Linked DNA regions of Homo sapiens: regions 2, 3 and 4 are each linked to region 1. Evidence: promoter capture Hi-C in 16 types of primary human blood cells and fetal thymus (Javierre and others, 2016). All regions are on one chromosome and are shown on one strand. Each heading gives the region's core, a stretch centred on a gene start or on the middle of the fragment in contact. The rest is flanking DNA. Distances are from core to core; before and after follow the strand shown. Region 1 holds the start of ZNF516 (zinc finger protein 516). Region 2 overlaps MBP (myelin basic protein). Region 3 holds the start of MBP (myelin basic protein). Region 4 overlaps MBP (myelin basic protein).

What was found. The method cuts DNA at HindIII sites, captures the fragments that hold promoters and counts their contacts. A CHiCAGO score of 5 or more calls a contact.
Region 2: a contact is called between a fragment that was not itself captured here and the fragment with the promoter of ZNF516 in region 1, in 1 of 17 cell types (erythroblasts). The highest score is 6.6, in erythroblasts.
Region 3: a contact is called between the fragment with the promoter of MBP here and the fragment with the promoter of ZNF516 in region 1, in 1 of 17 cell types (monocytes). The highest score is 5.8, in monocytes.
Region 4: a fragment that was not itself captured here is called in contact with the fragment with the promoter of ZNF516 in region 1 in 3 of 17 cell types (monocytes, neutrophils and total B cells); the score reaches 9.6 in monocytes.

The regions. Positions count from the first base shown.
Region 1 is chr18:76,493,829-76,496,626 of GRCh38, forward strand. It overlaps ZNF516 (zinc finger protein 516), which reads right to left and starts at 1,414. Exons shown (of 7, transcript NM_014643.4): 1 at 1,316-1,414. ZNF516-DT (ZNF516 divergent transcript) reads left to right here and starts at 1,511. Exons shown (of 2, transcript NR_164145.1): 1 at 1,511-1,958; 2 at 2,451-2,798. It overlaps ZNF516-AS1 (ZNF516 antisense RNA 1), which reads left to right. Exons shown (of 2, transcript NR_136504.1): 2 at 1-90. RefSeq lists silencers at 444-533, 1,234-1,333, 1,464-1,523. The HindIII fragment of the contact is 7,170 bases long and covers 199-2,798 here.
Region 2 is chr18:77,110,476-77,113,311 of GRCh38, forward strand. The region is part of intron 1 of MBP (myelin basic protein); the gene reads right to left. Among named protein-coding and RNA genes, the nearest start is that of MBP, 21 kb to the right of the region's middle. RefSeq lists enhancers at 936-1,437, 1,438-1,939. The HindIII fragment of the contact is 3,851 bases long and covers 1-2,836 here.
Region 3 is chr18:77,131,489-77,134,589 of GRCh38, forward strand. MBP (myelin basic protein) reads right to left here and starts at 1,295. Exons shown (of 9, transcript NM_001025101.2): 1 at 1,092-1,295. RefSeq lists a silencer at 260-1,559. The HindIII fragment of the contact is 15,459 bases long and covers 1-3,101 here.
Region 4 is chr18:77,066,812-77,069,965 of GRCh38, forward strand. All of the region lies in intron 2 of MBP (myelin basic protein), which reads right to left. Among named protein-coding and RNA genes, the nearest start is that of MBP, 64 kb to the right of the region's middle. RefSeq lists an enhancer at 513-602. The HindIII fragment of the contact is 5,207 bases long and covers 1-3,154 here.

The DNA of each region.
Region 1 (2,798 bases), core at 164-2,663:
CTTTTCAAAAAATGTAAACCAACAATGCAGCAGCAAATGGCTTTTTGTGCATCTGGATTAAATAAAGCACAGAATGAATATATTTAAAAAGAGGGCTGCGCAAGTTGATCTTTGCACACCCGGAGACCCGGTGACTCTTTATCAGCGGAATGAGTAAGACACACACACAGCCCCCAGAGCTCCCGGTCTGCTGCGGGAAGCTTATTAACGCTGATAATAGATGAGGCTGACTTACAGACCCACATTTTTCGGGTAAAAGGCTGGTTCCCTCTGGTCCCTAATTGCGGGGGTCCACTGGCTTTCCTCACCACACACATAAACTGCTGCTTTTAAATACCCCACTCGGCTGCCATTTAACAAACTTATTCATACAAAGTTTCGTTAAAACTTGAGGCGGTTTAATCTAAATACTGATCGTAACTATTCAGTCTGTTAGTTCTCCCTGGAAATGGCAGCGGAGGCGCCTCCCCCCACCTCCCGCCCAACCACACACACCCCACCGCATTCTTCCTTCATACACCCGGGTTCATCTCGCCACCGAGGCCTCCCCCACCCGCACCCGGCGGGGCGCAGCTCCGAGGAGTCCCTGCCCACCCCTCTCCGAGTCGGTGCCAGACCCTCGCCCCCACCCCCACCCCCGCCCGAACTTCCCTTCCAGGACCTCTCACTTCTTTAACGTTAGGGTCACTTAGAAGCTCCCAGCAGACTGGCAAGCAGCCGGGGAGGGGGCCGTAAAAAACAAGGCCACCCCCACCTCCACGCAAACACGTCCCCTAGGCAGCAGCGCGCGGTGCCCACAGGCATCGATCCCATCCGCCAAACCCTTAATAATTGAAGCGGCTCCTCGGGCCCGCAGCCCCATCACCCACCTTCATTAGCCGGAGCGTTTTACTTTAAAGTAAGGCAATTTGCTCTTTGTCTCCTAATGGATGGAGAGCGCATCCGAGCTCCCCTCCTCCCGCGTCGCCTTTGACAAAGTGTACAAAGCCAGAGCCTCTTCCGCGCTCCCACCCCGGCCCCCACCCCGCCCCTCCACTGCGGTAAAAACCACCTCCCGGGCGCTCGCCCCGCCGCCCGAAGTTGCATCTTCCCCTATCCTGGAATTGACGAGCAGAGCAACTACCCACCGGGAAAGCCAAGTAGCCCTCCCCGCGCCCGGGGGGCCCCTCCCCGGCGCACCCCCCTCCCCAGCGCCTCCCCCCCTACCCCCAGCGGCGCACACCAGAGTACGGGGCACGTCGGGGCTCCGGGCCCCGCGCCCACCGCCCGCCCGCGGCCCCTGCGGCGCAGCCCTCCCCCCGCCCGCGGCCCCTACCTTGGCAGGGAGGCGGCGGGCCTGGGGAGGAGGACGCGCACGCCCCGCGCATCTGAAGGTGAAGCCGAGCGCCCGCGGCGCGGAGCCGAGCGCTGCACTAGACCGACCGCGCCAGCTGCGCCCGGGCGCGGGGGACGCGCGAGGGCGCGCGGGGCCCGCCACGCGCCCGGCCCCCTCCTCGCGCCGCCCGCGCGCGCCCCGGACGCGTCCGCCCCGCGGGGGCCCCGGCGCGAGCCGGGCTCGGGGGGCTGCGCGGCACGGGGAGGGGGCCGGGCGCTCACGGCCCGGCGCAGGCCGGAGGCTTCCCCCAGCCTGGAAATGGTCTGCCCTGTAGGAAACGCACACTCCACTATTGTCTCATCAGCACAAAGTTCTGCCACACTGAGGGGACAGTCTGGAGGCTTGCAGTGACTCAGACACAGCCAATTCCTCCCCTAATAGCACTGAATCACGGTTCCAGCGGCCAGTGGTCGCCCCTCGTCAAGGTCTAAGGCTGCTGCAGCCCCGGCTCCCGGAGGCCGTTTCCGCGCGCACACGCGCATCCATACGTACAGACGTGCTCGGGATGCGGGTCCCGCCGGCGGGTACCTGGGCACTGCGCCCCATCTGGACTGAAATGGGGACACCCCTTCGGGGGTCCCAGGTGCGTGTGCATTACACACGGCGTAGCGTGTGCGTGTCACTCAACTTCCTGGTAAATGCCTCTGGGGGTGTTCAGATGCAGGATCAATACATTAAGTCCTGAATCAAGGGTCACAGAGGTCCCGCTGGAAAGACTTCAAACAGCGGCTCTGCCACCCGGCCATTTAAAAATGAAGGGGTTGTTTACCGGTAGCCTCGAAAGTTCAACTCTTATTTTTCTGTTCTTAAAACTTCATTTCTTCACCTCACCTACTCCCCACGAGCAGTAGTTAGTTGTAATAAGTTGAGTCTGGGACTAGAAATCCTAATTTGACTCCAAAACGCTCTCCTGTTACAGGGCAGGGATGGCCGGGGTGGGGGAGGGGAGGGCGGGCGCGCGGGGGCGGGGGAGGGGCGGGTCGGAGCTAGCGAGGGCGAGCGCCCCTTCACGGCCGGTGACGTAGACCCGGGGAGCTGCGGCCTGCGGAGGGGTAACACTATCTTCTCCCACCAGGCTCCTGGCCGTATTGTTCTCCTTCTCCTCGTGATAACTCCGCAGTGGAGGTGGATTCCGTCCAAGACGCCCAACGTGGCTCCGCGTAGCAATCAGCGCTGCAATCCTGGCGGTTACCTCAGCGGCGGCGTCTCTCTCTGCGCCTCACACTCGCAGCCCGCGGCCCTCCCCAACTTAGGGCGTTTACAAAAGAAACTACTCCAGACGCGCTGCAAAGGGAGGCGCATGTGCCCGAAAGCTGGCGATCAGACGGGGGGGGCATTCTGCATGTGTGATGTTTCTGGGGGCGGTGGGGAGTGTGTGTCGGGGTCGGGGGGCGGGGGGGAGTCAGGCAGAAAGACAGGGACA
Region 2 (2,836 bases), core at 278-2,777, 620 kb after region 1:
TCAGAATAGAGATTTCCCATGCTTGTGTCACAAGGACCTTCTCCCCAGTCCCCCACCTTCCCTTCTCCATGTAGTGAGAGAACTGCCCCTCTCCCCACACCACCTGCCTTGCACTGGCCACCTGGCTGCCCTGGCAGGGACTACATTTCCCAGCAGCCCTTGCAGCTGTTGCTGGTCACCGCCGGACAAGGGGCCTTTCTCCATTCCATAAGTGTGTATGGAACTTTTGTTCTAAGACCACTTCCCTAGGCATCAGATAAATTAGATAAGATTTTTTTTTCTGTATTTGGAAACTGTAACATGTTATACCTAAACAGACACATGAGAATATATTATAAAACATATAAATTGTGGTTAATTTAATAAAATCTAACCAGCAGGATCCACTTGGGAAAGTCTTAACTTGTGCCTCTGCTAGTAGAATTTGAAGAGCCCACCATGAAGGCATCTTTTTCTGCTTTCTCTGCTTTTTAAAATCCCAGGAGCAATGTTTTCGACATCCCAGGTGCTTTGGAGTCTTCGCGGTGTACGGGACCTTAAAGCTGAGCTGGCTGTATTGCCTCGTGGCTGCTCCAGTCCTGTGCTAGACCTCTCGCTGGGTCTCGGGGTTCTCAGCGCCTGTTCAGAAAGCCTGGCAATGTTTGCCTGGGAGGAAAAGCTCCATAAATACACGCTGAAGACACGACTCTGTGGGTCCGTCAGATGAAACACAGCATCACCCAGCATCCACCGAGGAGCCCAGTGCTCATGGGCACGGTTCTGTATTTTGGAGGTGCCATGACTACAGCTTCTTGAAGAAGGCAACTAAGGGAAACGCTACTGTGGATCTGCACACATCAGAAAAGGCTTCTCTGACCCCTCAACTGTGTGCAAAATAATAAAGGAGATACCATGTAGAATTCAGGTAGAGAGAGGTGCAGACCCAGTATCCCAGGAAAGGAAAACCTGAATAAACAGTGGAACTGTGGAAATTCCAGAGGATTGTCGTGCCCCTTTGTAGAGACGCTAAAGGCCAGGCAGGGGCAGCAGCAGAAGGCTGTGGGCTGCAGGAAGGAGACCCCCACGGGAGGGCCCTGGTGTCGTGTGAGCCCTGGGCAGGTCCACTCGGTCTTGTGAGGCCTCTGCCTCCTCTCCAGCACCCAGGGCGGGATTCACCAGGGCCACCACCAACATGCTGAGACCTGGTGATCTCCTCAGCCGTTGGTAACTGCTTGGGAGACCACGCCCTGGCTTGGCAGGCTCAGTAAGAGCTGTAGACACCGCCCACCCTCCCTGCAGAGAGAAAACAGCCCCTCACCCCTAGAACACGGACAGTGACAGCCTCAAGTCGGAGGGGCAGGCCCTATAACTCTGCTTCTTTGACATTTGAAAAAGAAATCCTGGAGAACAAATTTCAAAGAACAAGCAACTCATATATAAAATAAAACCAAAGATATCTGAAAGAAAATAAATGAAACCAAGTGACGGGACTTCTCTTCTTTCACTATCCTTGTCTCCTTTCTCTCTCCCCCGACGTCCCTCCCTCCATTCCTCTTCCTCTTATTCTACCAATACCCAAGCACTGAAGACTGTGTTCTGCAAGCAATCATTTTTATTTCTCAAACCAAAAGTATGATTGTAACACTCTGTGTTCGGAGCATAGTACACAGCTACCAACGTCACCAAAAACCCGTAGAATGAACACCGTGCACACGCACACACACACACACACACACGTGCGCGCGCGGCAAAAAGAAACAGCTCATTTCGGAGCTGAGGACAAGGCGTGGGAAGAAGACGCGTTTGGTTTCACCCAGGCGGGTGGCGGCAAAGCTGTGGGATGCGCGCTGCACACTCCTTCCGTCATCCCGTTCCCACCTTCCACACACACCTGCGGGAGGTCGGACATGTCCTGATTGCGTGTTCATCACGATGGCAAACCGAACATGAGGAGAACGCCACTGACGCTGGGTGCGCCGGCTTTCCCAGCCCTCGTGCATAACGGGGAGGGAGATGCAGAAGTTTTTTCCAACATCGGTGCAAAGGGGAAGCTGAGGTTTTCCTATGGAGGAGGGTCAGATCCCTCTCTTCCTCATCTCCCTCCCCCTCCCCCTTCTCTGTTTCCAGCTCCCTGTGGACTCTGTCCCACCCACAAGCTCGAGGCTGCTGCCACATGGAAGGCCGGGAGAGAGACGGGCGGCCAGGACAGGGGCCGGCTGTTTGCAGGGGAGGCATGTGTGTGGAGAACGCCTAGGAGCACGTGGGTGGCCACGAACCCTGACCGTGCAGGTCGAGAAACTCTTCCAGGATAGTATGTGGTGGATCGTGTCTGCCTAAAAGGTATGTCCAAGTCCTGACCCCAGGACCTGTGAAGGTGGCCTGATTTGGAAGGAAGGTTTTGTAGATGTCCTCAAGTTAAGATGAGGTCATCCTGGATTACAGTGGGCTCTAAATGCAATGACTGATGTTCTTACAAGAGAAAGGAGAGGGATTTTTTTTTTTGAGACAGAGTTTCACTCTTGTTGCCGAGGCTGGAGTGCGATGGTGCGATCTCAGCTCACTGCCACCTCCGCCTCCCGGGTTCAAGCAATCTCCTGCCTCAGACTCCAGAGTAGCTGGGATTACAGGTGTCCGCCACCACACCTGGCTAATTTTTTGTATTTTTAGTAGAGATGGGGGTTTCACCATGTTGGCCAGGCTGGTCTCGAACTCCTGACCTTAGGTGATCCACCCATCTCAGCCTCCCAAAATGCTGGGATTAGAGGCATGCAGCACTGTGCCTGGTCAAGGAGAGGGAATTTTGGACATAGATACACGGCATTTCACACAGGGAGAAACACCACATGACAATGGAGGC
Region 3 (3,101 bases), core at 45-2,544, 640 kb after region 1:
ACGCGCCCCTCACCCACGCGCAGAGAAACCGAGCACTTGTTGATTCTCACGTTGTTGCAATTGGAAAACGGAACAAGGAACCAGAGCTCGCCTGTTTCCAGCCAGAGTCGCACGGGGGTCCCCAAAGACGCTTGAACCTTTTCCCAAGCCCCACTCCACCTTCCAAAACGGGGGGGCTCAGGTGGACGCGAAAGGACACAAGGCGCTGCCCCCAGCACCCCGGAAAATCTAGTGTGGCGGCAAATGACCGCAGGTCACACACCCCGGCCTCGGGGGCCACGGAAAACGGACGCACCCGGCCCAGGACAGGCAGTGGGGCCCAGGAGGGGACTGCCGGGAAGACCCGGGCGGGCCGGCGGGCGGCTGCGGGCGGCGCACGTGGGCCCAGGTGGGCGCAGCGACGGGCCCGGCCGAAGAGCCCGAGACAGGCCCTGCGAAGGCGGAAGCCCGGACCCGGGCTCTCCTGGCCGCCCCTGGAGCTCAGAGGGAGACTGCGCTTCGCCCCGGGGGCAGGGGCAGGAGCGCGATCGCGCGCGGGGCCCCCGGGGTGTGATTAGCAGGCGCCGCGAGCCGGGAGGACCCCCCAGCCCGCCCTGGCAGCCAGCACCCTCTCCACACCCGCCCAGAGTGGCCGCTTTTGACCGCCGTCCCCTCCCACCCTAGACTCCTCCCCTCAGCCCCACGGCCCGAGGCCGAGCGGTTTCAGCGACCCTGGGACCGCCGGGCCTGGCTGGAGTCCACCCCTGGACACCTGTCAGGGTCGGGCCCCGGCGCTGTAAACCCGCGTCTACACCCGCGCCCAGCCCCCGCGCAATGGGGATCGGGGGCGGCGACTTGGGTTCGGGTCAGGGAGGCCGCCGGCTGCTACCTGCTCGGCCACCTGCTCCGCTGCCTAGGTTCTCCCTGCGCGTCCCCAGCCAAGAAAGGGACCCGGAGTCCGGGCGTCGGGATAGCTCCTGTCCCCGATCTTGCGCCCCCGGCTCCCGCGGGGCTCCGGTCCGGGGTCCCGCCCAGGTCTCCGCGGTCCCCACTCGGAGGGGCACAGAGACAAAGGCGGCAGAGCAGCCCGCCCGTCCCCGAGGGTCACCCACCGGCGCTGCGCTCGTTGCTCCGAGGCCGAGGGGCGCCGCGGGGTCCAAGGCCCTGCTCCGCCTGCCCAGGCCCGGGCAGGCTGGTCTCGGCTTCAAGCGCCCACGCGCGGGGTCCCCGGGCAGCCTGCTTCGCCTTCCGGGGTCGGGAGACAGGGGCCGCCGGGGCCGGAGGCTGCTTCTCTCTGGCGCGCGGCGGCGGTGACTGACGGCGGCGGCTCCGAGGGACGGGCGCGCACCCAGCTCCCCGGCCCCGCCTCCCCGGGCTTCCTGCGAGCCAGGTAAACACAGGCCGATCCCGCCGGGCCCGCCCCACCTGGACGCGGCCGCCGGCGCCGCCCCGGGAGCTCGGAGGACCCCGGGCCCGCTCTGCCCACGCGGAACTTGGGGGGCGCACGGGGCCCACGCGCAGGGTCAGACCTCGGAGGGGCGGCCTGGAGCCTCGCCCGCTGCCGAACTGGGCTCCGAACTGCGGCCCGTCGACCCTTCCCGTTCGGAGGCTTGGCCTCCGAACCCACCCCGACCCCGACCTCGACCTCGCGGGAGGGGTGCCAGGCCGCATCTCCCCGCGTCCTCAGGGGCTGGAAACCCCAGAAACTGCCGATAGACTTGGCGCAGCCCCGGCCCTGCAGGAGGAGAGTCAGCCCGGCCTGGAGGCGAAAGGAGCCGGCAGGTCCTCCCAAGGCACTCCCTCCCTCCCCTGGAGCCCAGGCCAGGCCCATGTCCGGCTGGCAGGTGCTCCTCTGGGAGCTGGGAGCTGGGAGCTGGGAGCTAGGGGCGCACCTTCTCCTGCAGGACCGGCGCAGGAAGCGTGCGCGGAAAAGACAGCAAAACACGCGCAGGTGCGAGGAAGCAGCCTGGTCCTGCAGCCCAGAGACATCGTGGTCTTCGTCGCTGTCTTGTTAAAAAGAAAAAGCCTGCTGTTTAGCCGTGACTCACCTGCACACAGATTTAGTGGTCAGAGATCTTTCTCTGGATTCTCAGCCTCCTGATGGTGGAAGAGGAGGAGGTTGGGGGAGTCCCAGAATGAGGCCCCGCGTTCCTCCTGACCTACACCCCCAGTCAGGGATCTGGATCTGGAGCTTCCAGGGGACCTGGAGCAGCCTGGGACCCACACAGTTTGTTAGGAAGTGAGGGAGAGGGGTGAGCGCTGTCCCGGCCCGCGCTGGGAGGCGGGACTCAGACTTCAGCACGGGGTCGGGGTTTCGGCCTAAAACCAGCCTCCCCCAAAGCCCCGGAGGATTTAGCAACTGTCTTCAAATGCTGGCAACTGGAAGAGAAATACTTCCACAACGACGCAAAAGCATTCAGTCTGGTCGTTTCCTCAGGAGAGATTTTCAAGTGGAGGGGGCAGGAGGGTTCTGAGACTTTGAGGCTGAAGGTGAGGAGGGAAAAGGGTGCCAAAGATAGTGTGTTTCTCCAATTTTTCTGCCCCACAACCTCACTTTAAGTCAAGGATGAGCGGAGTGGGCGTGGGAGGCTGGACAGCTGCCCTAGGAGCACGGGTGGTGACAATGAACCCGGGTGCACCCAGGTCCCAGCTCAAGTCACTCAAAGCTCAGGCTGGGGAAGCTGGAACACTAAAATGGGTCCCATTTTAGATACCTGCTTTAGCATCAGAAACAGCTTTTCCTCCCCAAAATATCTCTTGGCTTTATCTCAGTGACTCCACAGGGCGGGGCCACCTTCCTGCCTGCAGATGTCCCTGTGTGCTGGGCTCTGGAGCGTCCCTCAGGCCACAGTGACAGCTGCACACGCGGCCTTCTGTTTGGTGCTCCTTCTGCTGGTGTTACAGTGGTTTCCTGAAACACTACATATGCCAACAGTCAGCCCTACAAATGTCAGGCTCCACAAGTTCCAGTTAAAAGTCTTTTTAAAGTATTTATGAAATTTCACCGTGCATATTTTGTTGGGATAGAGTGTCCACACAGATGGGCAGCCAGGCAGTTTAGAAAAGTCATGGATTCTTCAAAGAAAACATGTAGATAATACTATTTAATAAAACAGTGGATT
Region 4 (3,154 bases), core at 1-2,500, 570 kb after region 1:
TGGGAGAATGAGTCCTTTTAGGGACAGAAAACGAAGCTGATGTCCGGAGGCACTTTTGCATTCCAGGGGAGGAAGCGGCCTGTTGTGGTGTTATGGGGTGGGCCAGGCCCCCTGGCCACTCCTCTGGGAATCTTCGGCTTCAGAGTTTCTCCTCTGGGCCTCCCTTTGCCTGTCGTTTGGGGCCCGAATGGCAGTGTGAGCTTGTTTTTCGAGTTTAAAGTTTTCAGTACATAGTTTGATCACCAGTGCAGAGAGAAGACATGGTTCAGCTTCCTGATATATTTGTAATCAATTTTACTTAACTATTTTGAAATGTCACACTTGCACATTGAATGATTCAAATGCTCTAGAAAGTGCACAGTGGCTGCGTGCTGAAACCCCGGGGTCTCCTGGATGCCCCCCCGCCCCCTTCTGGGAGGCAGCTGGCATTTCCAGCTCCTTCCAGACTTTGCACAATCATCTGGGCACCTTCAGACAATGACACATGGGTATTCTTTTCCCTCCTTTCTGTCTTCACATAAATGGCATCACACTGTGGATGATATGCTCCTTCTTGCTTTTGCCAGGGAAAGAGGGATCCTGGAGGTGACGTCATGTCGGCACGCACAGACTGCTTGCACAGCCCGCTAGCATTTCAGTTACTGTTCACACCTCACCAGGCTCCACAACCACCATCCAGCTTGTTCACATTTGTGTTTTTCAACCCTAACCGTGTTGCACTAATTTCCTGTTCACTTCTCAGAATGCACATGGCCAAGGAGTATTTCTGGAGGAGGAATGAGTCACACTGGAGCTTTCACTGAGCGGGCGTCAGTGCTGTGGGCAGCCGCGCTGGCCCTGGTGCTACCCACCAGCAGCACCGGGAGGCTGCTTCTCTCGGGTGCCACTCCCTGCAGCGCCCCACCCTGGTCTCTGCACTTAAGTTTGTACCAATTTTCCACCCAATCTCTCATTTCCTGGGAGCCTTTAACCCAGGACCATAATATGTACATAGTCTCAATTTTACATTCTTTTCCTTCTGGAGAGAGGGGCAGGCACAGCCATTAAGACCACCCTGAAGTCTGATTCAGACCTAGTGTGACTCACTTATGTACTGCAGGCTGTTTGTTCCTGGAGAGAAGTCCAGCCCTCTGAGCTCACACCAGCCAGGGCCCTACACTCCGCCTCCTGGTCACTAAGAGCCCTATCTGGAAACCCTCCATCCCGTGTGTGTGTGTGTGTGTGTGTTTGTGTGTGTGTGTATCCATTCCCATCCCTGGGCAGACAGGAGGGGATGGGTGGGTAAGGTCCCCACCAACCAATGTTTACGGCATTGTTTCTACAATTCAATGCTGTCTGGTGTGATTAACAGATAAAAAACACACGGGTTATTGGACTCACAAAATTGAGGAGGGAAGAATTTGCCTTCACGTTGTGAAATTAAATTGATAAGAGGACACTGGTTTGGACTGAGCTCCTGCACTGGGCCCAGCAGACGCCCCCGTATGAAGTATGGTACCAAGCCCAAATGAAGATCTTTATTTGACCTTCTGAGCAATCAGGAGAGGTAACAGCCCAACTTCCAAGCAGGCCAGGTTTAGCCCAGATGACGAGGAAGTCCCGTCTGCTTTAACCTTTATGGGGAAGTCATCTTGGAACCACCACACATCCGCCTGCATTTTGTTCTCTGTGTCTGCTTTCCTCAGTCTGTTTATAAACCAACCTCCTCTGCTCGGCTCATTGGAGCACTCATTCTGTTTTGCAGAAAGAGGTGTTGCCTGATTCTAGAATGACAAATAGCAGCCAATTAAGGTGTTCACATTTGTTGTAACTTTGTGTACACCTGCCAGGCTTCTGTTGCTGGTTGGCCGCTGTAGAAACCAAGCTGCTGCTTTCCAGATTGCGAGTCACAGAGTCCCACGAAACAGTTACTAATAAGCAATGAAATGCAGAGAATGTTCAAACTCACTAGTAATCAGAGAAATACAGAGCGAAACAAAAATGAGATTTCTTTTTAACACAAGTAGAAAACAAACTGATGTCTGGCATTGCTAGAGATGTGGTGGGAGGGAAACTTTCCTGGGACTGGAATAAACACTCTCAGCCTCTTTGGGAGGACAAAGAGCAGCAGCCGCCACCACGGAGCTGAGCCTTGGGGGCCTCACCTCGGGGACTCTGACCTCACCTCGGGGCCTCTGACCTCACCCCCATGGCTTCCAGGCTCCCAGCAGCCTGTGACTTCTGCGGATTTTCCTGTGTCTCTATTACAGAAACTCCCAGAACAGTCCATTGTTTTATTCCCCTCCCTGTGATGCGGTGAATACTGTGAGAACAAGAACAGTGCCTTACACACCTTCCCAACCCTCAGGCCTAGCACAGTGCCTGGCGCCCAGAGAGAGCTTTTTAAACATAGTTAAAATGGATTGTTTCTGTTTCAGCAGAGGGAGCCAAAGATAGCTGGCTATGTACACTTTTCATATCTATCCAGTTAATTTCAGAAGACACTAAAACTTGGAAAATAAATAATTTCCCGATAGTCTTTCCTCAGCTAGGAATTCATGTCATATTTTTTTACATCCTGCTTCTATGCTAATAGGAGATCATATTCTTCACTAATTACAAAATAATAAGTGTTATTTAAGAACTAATTAAGTACGATTCAGCTACCGTCGTTATTGATCATAGATGCATTTTCTTCATGCTTAATGTCTCTCCAAGCGGGACACCACTAGGACCAGTAGTGTCCTCCCATTGGCGTGGGAAGCCCTTCTCACCGGAGAGTAGAACAATGCCGCATCTTAGAAATGAGGCGTTTCAGATGCAGAGTGAAAGCTGATCTTTAAATCACAGCACTTTGCTTTAAGTGCGTGGCGGGGGATAACCTAGCGGCAGCCACTTCCCTGTATCCACTTCCCAGGCTGGTTTCGAGGGTGGGGGCAGCATAAGCATGAGGAGGAATTTTGTGTCCTGTGCGCCAGCTTGTGCACACGTTGGTCCCACAGCTATGGTGCGTCCACTCTGTTTATCCCTCACACCAAAGCGGCCACAGGTGGACCCTGAATAGTGATGGCAGACAGGACTCCAAATCCGCCTTTTTCTCCACCTTCTCAACTCAGTTCTCTGATGGTTCAACATCTCTAGGTCATACAGGGACACAGGACGCGTGCAGAAAGTA